Linked DNA regions of Homo sapiens: region 2 is linked to region 1. Evidence: promoter capture Hi-C in human tissues and cell types (Jung and others, 2019). All regions are on one chromosome and are shown on one strand. The core of a region is centred on a gene start or on the middle of the fragment in contact, and the rest is flanking DNA. Distances in the headings are between cores, read along the strand shown.

Region 1 (5,125 bases), core at 764-3,263:
GCACACTTTATTTAAAGTACAATGTGCTGAAGAAAATGAAAAAAGAAAGGGTGCTTTCAAATTTGTACTGAGTAAACTTTCACTAGATCACATCATATGTTTATCACTAGTCACATATATGTTGTATTTCTATGTGTAATCGTCAGGCACTTTTAATTTCTAGTTTGCATTTACCATGCCAGCCTCCTCCTCAATCCCAAATTTCCTTTGGTTATAAATTTAGTAAATTTGAAAGAGCCAGCAGGGATTAAACCCTGAAGGTATTCAAATGACTATCTGACGTTATTCCTCATTTCAGCCATTTCAAAAAATTATGCTTTCATTTAGAATAGGCTCTGGGAATCAAAGTGTGTGTATTTTGCCCAAGTAGAAGACACAGTTTAAAGTTAACATCCTAGCTACTAGAAGGGAAAGCAAACATCGCTGGAAAAGGAGCCTATTTTTTTTTACCTTACACTAAAACTACACTGCGAAGATCAAAAGAAATCAACATGAGAGTGTGCCTCTTAACGCTAGGCCCAAAGTAGATGCTTATTAAATGATAGTTTACCCCAATCCTTCACAAATGGTTGATAGGTCTTACTATTTCCCCCCATTCAAATCTAGAATTTTTTCACTCTCATAAACTAATCGATAGTGAATGGAAAGCACAGAATAGATCATCGTCCAAGTGTTAGGTATTAGCCTGAGAAATCCAGAATCCCATATTTGTAACTGTCCTTCTTGAGAAAGTGCATTTTTCAGGCGGATTCTAGCCCCATTTTTCTTTTTACCATTTTTACATATTATGAGAGGTGGCTTAGAAGTACTTCGATTTTTGCCTCTTCATCACAACACACTGAACGTTAAAATCAAGTGGTTGGGTTTTTATTGGCTTATTTTGTCTCTAACCGTTTTATTTCTCGAGCTGTCATCGTTCTTTTCGTCTTACATCCTTATGAACCTTTTCTGGATTAAAAAAAATGACGTTATAATAAGGAAACTAACTGGCGTTGGATTCGAACGAAGTTGACTCCATTCCTTTTCCTCCCCGTAGTGTGGGCGCTACGAGGAAAGACCTCGGCGAGAACCAGCGAAGCCCGGGCTGCCCTCGCCGTGCGGGCGCACATTTGCTCCTCGCGCCGGGCTGCGCCGGGCGACCGCGGCCGCCTCGGCGTGTGTCCGCGGCTCCCTCCCGCCCTCGCCCGCAGTTCCCCGATCCCGATCCCGGATCTCTGGGTCCACAGCTTGGCTACCTCCCGAGCCGGAGCCGGAGCCGGAGCCGGAGTCGCGGCTGGGCCCGGCCGCCGCGTCACAGGGGGAGGGAACCCGGGGGGGAGGGGGAGGGGCGGTGAGGTCAGCGGCGGCGGCGCGTCCGCGGGCGGCGGGAGCGGCGCATGCGCGGAGCGAGGCCCGTGAGTGGCAGCGGCGGCGCGCGGGGGGCGGGCGAGGGGCCGAGTGTGGGGGAGCGGGCGGGGGCCGTCGAGGCGGCGGTGTGTGGGCGCGACGGCTGCGAGTTGGAGAGGTCTGTGGTGCGGGTCGCCCCGGGGGATCCCCGGCGCGGGCCTCGCGCGACGGCCACGGTCGCGCGGCGTGTGTGTGGGGTCCAAGCACACCCGCAAAACTTCCTCCTCCCCTGCTCCGGGAGAGCGAGCGAGCGTGTGTGAGAGAGCGAGTGTGAGGAGCGAGCCGCGGCCCGGCGCCCAGCGCCGCCACTGGAGCAGCTGTCAAAACTTCGCCGCCGCCGCCGCCCGGGCCTGACGGGCCTGACGCGCGGGGGAGGGGCGGCCGGCCGGGGGCGCGACCCCCTCGCCGCCCCCGCCGGGCCCCGCGGCCGGCCCTCCCCGCGCCGGGCCCCTTTCTCCTCCTGCCGCGGGCGGCTCGGGGGAGGGGCCGCGGGCGGAGACCCCGGGGGCCGGCGCCCCTCACGCCGCCCGCCCGCCCGGCTGCCCCGCCCGCCCGCACCCGCCGGCCCCGCCCGCCCCGCACCGCCCGCCCCGCCCGCCGCCCCCCGCCCGGCCCCTGCGCGCGGAGGTGCGCGCGCCCGCGCCGATGTGTGTGAGTGCGTGTCCTGCTCGCTCCATGTTGCCGCCTCTCCCGGTACCTGCTGCTGCTCCCGGGGCTGCGGGAAATGCGAGAGGCTGAGCCGGGGAGGAGGAACCCGAGCAGCAGCGGCGGCGGCGGCGGCCGCGGCGGCGGGAGCCCCCCAGGAGGAGGACCGGGATCCATGTGTCTTTCCTGGTGACTAGGATGTCGTCGGAGGAGGACAAGAGCGTGGAGCAGCCGCAGCCGCCGCCACCACCCCCCGAGGAGCCTGGAGCCCCGGCCCCGAGCCCCGCAGCCGCAGACAAAAGACCTCGGGGCCGGCCTCGCAAAGATGGCGCTTCCCCTTTCCAGAGAGCCAGAAAGAAGTAAGTTGAGTGCGAGGGAGCCAGGCCGGGAGCCAGCGGCGGCGCCGGGCCGGAGCTGTCACCGGGCGCCCGCCCCGCGGCCTCCGCGCCCCGGCGCCCCCCGGCGGGGTGGGGGCGGGGCGGGCCCGCGGGCGGTGGCGGCTCCCGGCCCCGGCCCCGCGCCCCTCGGTAGCCGCCCGCGCCCGGCCTCCCCCGCTCCGCGCCGCCCGCCCGGGCTCCCGCCGGCGCCCGGCTCCGCACACTTTACTTTTCAGTCGGGCCTTTTCACTGGGTCTTCTCCGCGACTCTTCTTTTGGAGAAATTTCTCGTAGCCGCGTCTTGGCCTAGCTGGATCATTGAGAAAACAAGCCCGGAGCGCGCCCAGGTAGTCCCCGGACGGACTCCGGGCGAACCGCCGAGCCGTCGGCGCTCGGGAAACTCTCGGAGCTGTCAAAACGCCCGGGCCAGGTGGTCTCGGGGCGCGGGCTGGGGGCGAGAAGAAAGCGGCCGGGCGAGTGCAGCTTTTGTTTGTCAGCGACTTGCTCCTGGAACTTTTCCTGGTCCCAAACCTGTGTTTTCTTCTTTTGATGATATATTAGGAAGCCATTTGACTTCTTCCTCCCCCCTCCCCCAACACCCAGCACCGCACTCCCGGGCTCCGAAAGCACAAGTCCTGTGGGATCCCCCAGCTTCGGGGAACGGCCTGCCTAAGTTTTGGAGACGTAGCCAGCGTCCCCTCGTAAGGCAGAATACCAAGAGCACTTATTCGGAGAGAGTGCAGATGTAAATGTCGCTTCCCTCGTAAGTCTTAGCTGTAAGGGGCTTGGGAATAGGGTCGCCTGCCTTTGAGCGTACAGTAGGGCTGGACCCCAGCTTATTAGAGGACCAGAAATGTCTTCTTACAGAACGGTTATTTGACGGCTTTGCTTGTAAATTAAGACACCGTTTTAGTGCCAGCGAACTGCTCGGCTTCTGTGGCTCTCGCGTGTGCCGTGGAAGAACTGTGAATGTCTCTCGAAGTTGTAGAATGGCGTGTGTGCTTACTCATTTCGTGAGATGATATTCTCATTGAACTGTCGGGAGTGGAAGGGTGCGCTGGGACGTGAAGGAAGCCAGCACGTTTATGGATAGGCTGTTTCTTTGGTTCGGGTGCATTCACTTAGTAATAGTATTGTTGTTTGGTGATTTGTAGTAAAAATAGTAGCGTGAACTGAGGCATAGCAGAGCTGGGTTGTGGGAACCCATTGAGCTCTTGACTTGAATGTGCTCTTTTCTTGCCCCGCTGTCCTTTTACTATGAAAATGATTCAGGGCCTTCAACTTGCCTCCATATTTTATTGCCAGCTGTTACCTAGCTATGATAATCGTGAGGGAAGCAAGTACAGGATGTGTGTACATTATTACATTAGCTTGTTCGTGATACAAAGTTAGGACTTATTTATTATGCCACTTGCGTTGTAATACAGTGGCAAGTATAAAATGCCCTTATTCTGTATTAACTGAAATTTGTAGAAGGAAGTGGAGGTTTAAGTAATTTTTAGACATGTAAGCCACTTTTTTTTGCATCCTTTAAAGCAACTCAGGACAAGCCATATTGGGGTTTTACCTTGATTGCCTCCCATTTCACTATTTGCAAAGCATTTCTTCATCTCTTACTGAACATTAATTTGCAAGTATTGTTTTAAATTTGCATTTGAATTCTTACTCCAGAAAGATTAGATCTATGTTGTCACACCCCACACCCCATACTCCTGTAAGGGCGTGCTTGTGCACGCGCACACGCGCACACTCACACGCACGCGCACACTCGCACACACCCTACTTTTGAAATGAGCTCATTTGTATTAGTGCAGCTCCTGAGTGCACTGGACGATTAGGGTATTGCCACTTTATTATTTTAATTCTGAATCTCATGAAGAAATAGGCAGCCTTTGGAGAAGATAAAAAATTTCTGCTGAATAACAGTATAATCTAACTATGAAAAATCAAAACTTTTGGAAATATTTAGAACAAATGTAAGTCTGTAGAGAGCTTTTTCTTTTAGATTTGAAAACTAGTACTGCTTTCTTTATAGGAAATTAAAGTCTACTGGTAAATTTGACGGGTCTAAACTTTTTAGAGCGTTTTTTTTGAAATTGTGTCTTTTGAAGGGAATGGAATCTCCAGTTGTTTTTAGCAACATGTAAATGGAAACTAACATATGAATTGGAAAGCAAAGAGGTTTTTGAATTGTGTATCTCTATACTGTATAAGAATCCATGCAGAAAAGACCCTGTAGTTGGACAGTAAAGACCCTGAAAGTGAAACTTATGTGTAACCAGTGTAAATTAGGTTTGTAACCAGTGAAATTATGTGAAATTGCAAATAATTCACCTGAGAAATGAAAATTAATCTTCTTTGCTAAATCTCATAGAGATATTTTAAGTTGCTAATGTTACTTAGATGTTCATTAACTTAGTGAGTTACATTAAGTAGAGAAGATGCCTTTTTTTTTTTTTTCTGGACGAAGTCTTGCTCTGTAGCCCAGGCTGTAGTGCAGTGGTATGATCTCGGCTCACCGCAACCTCTGCCTCGTGTATTCAAGCGATTCTCCTTCCTCAGCCTCCAGAGTAGCTGGGATTACAGGTGTGCGCCATCGCACCTAGCTAATTTTTTGTATTTTTAGTAGACACAGGGTTTCACCATGTTGGCCAGGCTGGTCTTGAACCCCCGACCTCAGGTAATCCACTCTCCTCAGCCTCCCAAAGTGCCAGGATT
Region 2 (5,125 bases), core at 2,626-5,125, 76 kb after region 1:
CAGATTTCTGGAGCTCTTTCTCTGAATACCTCTCTTCTCTTGGGTAGTCTGTCCCACAAATTCTAGTCTTCTTGAGCCACCTGAACCTATGATTTCTGTCTTCTCATTTCAGCTCTCATTTTGGGTTCCTATCTCTGTGTGGTAGTTTCTAAATTAATGCCAAGCAGAAAGCCTGTGCCATGGTAGGGGTCACCCTGTTTCTTTCCCTTTGTTCCCTTCGCCATACCTGTTGCCCAGTGTCTTATAATAAGGTTGTTTCTTATATTTGTCTGGTTTCCTAGTTGTTTGGGCTGGAGGGTAATTTTGACCTGTCTTACTCCCATGTGGCTTTATGTAGAAGTCTCCTATGTTACTTTAGGAACTCAAGTTGGTTTCAGATTCTGAGATTAATATGGAACATAAAGTTTTGGTAGAAAATTTTCTCAAATAAAGTTAGTTGTATTCTTTTACTTCACATTTCTTGGTAATAAAGTGAAGTGAAGAACACTGAAATGAAAGGGTTAAGAGACAGGAAAAAGAGGGGAACGAAGAAAACCCAAAGAAGGGTTAAAATAAATAATCTTCATGTTGTCATTTGTAATTAGACTTCAAACTTTCCTTAAAAACTGAAACTGGAAATATCTGACTCAATATGGAAATATAAAACATGTATCTATTTTGCTGTTTAAATATGAAAGTTGGCAACTGATAGGGTTTTGAAGAGTATGACCATTATCTTTGCATTCAGAATATAGTGTTTGATTAGTCAGAAAAGTCACATGGCAGAAGCCAATGAGCAGCAATAAGGACACCGATGAAATAAAAGAATTCGAAAATGACATGATGTCAATAAGTTGGTCCATTGCCCAGAAGGAAAGGAATTCTGATGAATTGATCAACGTAAAAAGCATGTCTTCCTAGTGCCAAAACCAAGAATAGAAATCAGAAGAAAAATTTGAAAAGCAAAAATTAAAATCAAAATTATTTTTTAAGGAGTAAGTAGGGCAATGCAGATAACTGATATGTTGATAGAGATTATAAACTAGACAGAACGAGCTTGAAATAAAGCCAGTTGTGCCAAAACAAACAACAGCATAGACAGTGATGGTCAAGATAGTGGAGAAAAAACTCAAAGTAGAGCAAAACATGGGTCTGAGAGATTAAGTTAAAAAGTCAGCTAAACCATACGGTTTCCAATTTCTTTAAAAGTGGATGTTTATGATTATGAAAAATCACAAAAGAAAGATGAAAAGTAAACTCTACCTCCATAATGGCATGTGAATTATTTTGTCATTCTCTATTTTCTTTGAAGCAGCCATGTTGGGATTGTTTCGAGGATTTCTAGTCTCCCAGTCCCCAGTTCTTGTATTGGTCTACAGGTTTCTAAACAAAAAGTGATCCTATTAAAAAAAAATTCTTAGACCTCATGCCTTCTTACCCCCTACCGCTGACTCTGCCCCAGCCACCGTATATCCTTCTTGTCCCTCTAACCCCCCTCACTTGCTCTCATCTCAAGAATTTTGCATTTGCTGTTACTTCTACTGCAATGCTTTTCTCCCAGATATCTGTATGGTTTGCTTCATCTTCAGTTCTGTGCTAAAGTGGCTCCTTACAAAATTTTATTTTAAAACATTTATTTTATAAATCTGTTATTTAAAATAGCTAGTCCCTTTTTCTTTGCTTTCTTTTGTTGGATGTTGTATGTGTAATACTTGTTTACTGTTGTCTCTTCTCACTAGAATGTAGTTTTGTGACAGGAGGGATTTTGTTTTATTTATTTCTGTATCCACTGTGTTTGAACAGAGTCAGACACAAAGGAAGATTGATAGAGTAATCTAGTAATGCTTGCTCAATGTGTTGTCCAAATACTTGTTTAAAATGCTTCAAACTATAATGTTTCATCTATCAGTTTCCGACAGTGGGATGTTAATATCTCTCTAATGATTAGTTACCAATTTCTCTTTGTTCTGTAAATGTTTGCTTTATGTAATCTGAAGTTCTCTTATGTTATCCAAGTAAATTAATTTTTTTATCATTATGACAGTTTAAGCCATTTATGTTTACTGTGAAAATTCATATTTATATTTATCTTTTTATGTTATTTTCTATGTACCATTTGTTTTCATTCCTTTTCTGCCTGCTGTTGGATTGATCAAATTTTCTTATCCCTTCTTTCCACTTTATTTTAATGTTTTCTATCAAATTTAAAAACAACTACTTAATAAATTCTTTTTTTTTGAGACGGAGTTTCTCTCTTGTTGCCCAGGCTGGAGTGCAATGGTGTGATCTCAGCTCACCGCAACCTCTGCCTCCCGGGTTCACGCCATTCTCCTGCCTCAGCCTCCCGAGTAGCTGGGACTACAGGCGCCCACTACCACGCCCGGCTAATTTTTTTGTATATTTTTAGTAGAGACGGGGTTTCACCGTGTTAGCCAGGATGGTCTCGATCTCCTGACCTCGTGATCCACCCACCTCAGCCTCCCAAAGTGCTGGGATTACAGGCGTGAGCCACCGTGCCCAGCCTAAAAACAACTACTTAATAAATTCTAAAGATGTTCTTTCTTTTTGTCCATGAACAATAAGATCCACCTTAGAGTGTTTTCTCCCTAATTCACCCTTTTTCATCTTTCAGGTTTTGTAGTCTTTTTATTTAGTTCTGCCTTCTTTCCCCTTTCCCCCTGTGAAGTTTGAAGTGATGCTATTTTGACTGCTTGACTTGTTATGTAACATTAACAAATTTCTAATGTTGAATCATCCTGGCATTCTGATTATATTCAATAGGATTGTTCTCAGTTTTTATTTTCATTCATAGTTTTTGACAATGTTTGTTGGAATTCTGAGTCAGGTACTTCCTTTTTTTTATTTTTGGTTAAGACCGACTTTTTGATAGTTTTTAGTAGTTTAATTATAAAACCATTTAGGCTTTGATTACTTCAATTTTTTTTTCTTTTTGAGATAGAATTTCGCCCTTGTTGCCCAGGCTGGAGTGCAGTGGTGCAATCTCGGCTCACCGCAACTTCTGCCTCCCAGGTTCAAGCAATTCTCCTGCCTTAGCCTCTCGAGTAGCTGGGATTACAGGCATGTGCCACCATGCCCAGCTAATTTTTCTTTTTGTTTTTGTATTTTTTTTAGTAGTGACGGGGTTTCTCCATGTTGGTCAGGCTGGTCTCGAACTCCCTACCTCAGGTGATCTGCCTGCCTCGGCCTCTCAGAGTGCTGGGATTACAGGTGTGAGCCACTACGCCCGGCTGGTCACCTTAATTTTTAATATATTATTATGTTATAGCTCCTTCATGGTTTAGGTTGGTTAACTTTTTTTTTTTGAGACAGAGTTTCACTCTTGTTGCCCAGGCTGGAGTGCAATGGTGTGATCTCGGCTCACTGCACCTCCTGCCCACTGGGTTCAAGCGATTCTCCTGCCTCAGCCTCCTGAGTAGCTGGGATTACAGATGTGCATCAACACGTCCAGCTAATTTTTGTATTTTTAGTAGAGACGAGGTTTCGCCACGTAGGCCAGGCTGGTCTTGAACTCCTGACCTCAGGTGATCCACCCACCTCGGCCTCCCAAAGTACTAGGATTACAGGCGTGAGTTACTGTGCCTGGCCTAGGTTGGTTAACTTTTTTATGAGAACAAGACTTAAATGGATTTCTTATTGTTTAAAACATAGTTCTTTGTTTTATTCTTTTTTCATATTATTCTTTTATTTCATATTGTCCCCCCCCCCCCACCCCCCTTTTTTTTGTTTGTGTGTTTGAGACAGTCTCACTCTGTCGCCCAGGCTGGAGTGCAGTGGCATGATATCAGCTCACTGCAACCTCCATCTGTCAGGTTCAAGCGATTCTTGTGCCTCAGCCTCCCAAGTAGCTGGGATTACAGGCACACGCCACAACACCTGGCTAATTTTTGTATTTTTAGTAGAGACGGAGTTTCACCATGTTGGCCAGGCTGTTCGTGACCTCCTGACCTCAGGTGATATATCTGCCTCAGCCTCCCAAAGTGCTGGGATTACAGATGTGAGCCACCACAGCCAGCTGTTTTTCACTTTTTAAATGTTTTATGTTTTTCAATTAAATACTGAGTTGATTTGTATTTTTTCTTTCTATTTCCTCCCTCCCTCCCTTCTTTGTTTTTTTTCTTTAGCTGGAATTACTGGCACGCCACCATGTTTGCCTAATTTTTGAATTTTTTTTTTGGTAGAGATGGGGTTTCGCCATGATGGCCAGGCTGGTCTTGAACTCTTGCACTCAAATGATCCATCTAACTCGACCCTCCAAAGTGCTGGGGTTACAGGTGTGAGCCACCTTACCCAGCCTTTTTCTTTTAAAGAGTTTAAAATACTGCGAAATAATTTAAAACACTGACATTATCTGAGTACTGCTTTGTCAGTTTCCAAGTTTTTATGTGTAATATCTTGTTGCTCTTATGTGTTATTAATTTTTCTTTTACTCATTTCTATACCGTATTTAGTACAATTCAAAGAATTTAAAGGCATTAGTTTTTTTTTTTTTTTTCAATTGCTTTCTGTCAGGAATTTCACCTTGCTGTGACTCTTACCTTTATTTTACTTTCCTGAAGTGTTTATAAATTAAATTTTATTATGCTTGTAAGGTGGACATGATTATAATCGTGCTTAATTTTTAAAATTTTGTTTTTTAGTCATCTGCATCACAGTCACCAAAAGCACCTTTTACAAAGCTTTTAAAAATACATATATCTGGTCATTTCACATCAACTTTATTAAATATAGAAGTTAAACCTGGTATGTGAACTTTGTGAAGAACCCATTATGTAGTTAAAAGCCACTACTGTAGACAGAGGGAGACTTCAGAAGGTTACCTAAAAAAGGGGCAAAACCAGAGTGAGGAATACTTAAGTGAATTATGAGGACACAATTATATTCATGTGGGTCTGTCCTCACATTTAGAGTATAAGGAAGTGCTGGATTTAAGGGAGAAAATGACTGTAAACTCTGATATTTTCTACTTGATATGGTAAAATGCTGGAAAAATGCCCTAATTACTTATTTTGTATACCTTCAAATTGTGCCTTATGTTGAATATAAGTCTAAGCCTTAAAATTTAACATTTAACTCTATGTACTTATTATTTTTTTTTTTTTCTGTAGACCTCGAAGTAGGGGGAAAA

What was found. Contacts are between HindIII fragments. The study calls those that stand out against the background at their distance.
Region 2: a contact is called between a fragment that was not itself captured here and the fragment with the promoter of KMT2C in region 1, in 2 of the 25 tissues and cell types used here (H1 embryonic stem cells and neural progenitor cells).

Annotation. Positions count from the first base shown.
Region 1 is chr7:152,432,891-152,438,015 of GRCh38, reverse strand. KMT2C (lysine methyltransferase 2C) reads left to right here and starts at 2,013. Exons shown (of 59, transcript NM_170606.3): 1 at 2,013-2,390. The coding sequence starts at 2,230. It also overlaps the pseudogene FABP5P3. RefSeq lists silencers at 997-1,336, 1,377-1,666, 1,757-1,806, 2,187-2,246 and enhancers at 2,727-2,956, 2,997-3,046, 3,517-3,586, 3,897-3,946. The HindIII fragment of the contact is 14,314 bases long and covers 1-5,125 here.
Region 2 is chr7:152,358,656-152,363,780 of GRCh38, reverse strand. It overlaps KMT2C (lysine methyltransferase 2C), which reads left to right. Exons shown (of 59, transcript NM_170606.3): 2 at 5,106-5,125. Among named protein-coding and RNA genes, the nearest start is that of KMT2C, 75 kb to the left of the region's middle. The HindIII fragment of the contact is 6,489 bases long and covers 631-5,125 here.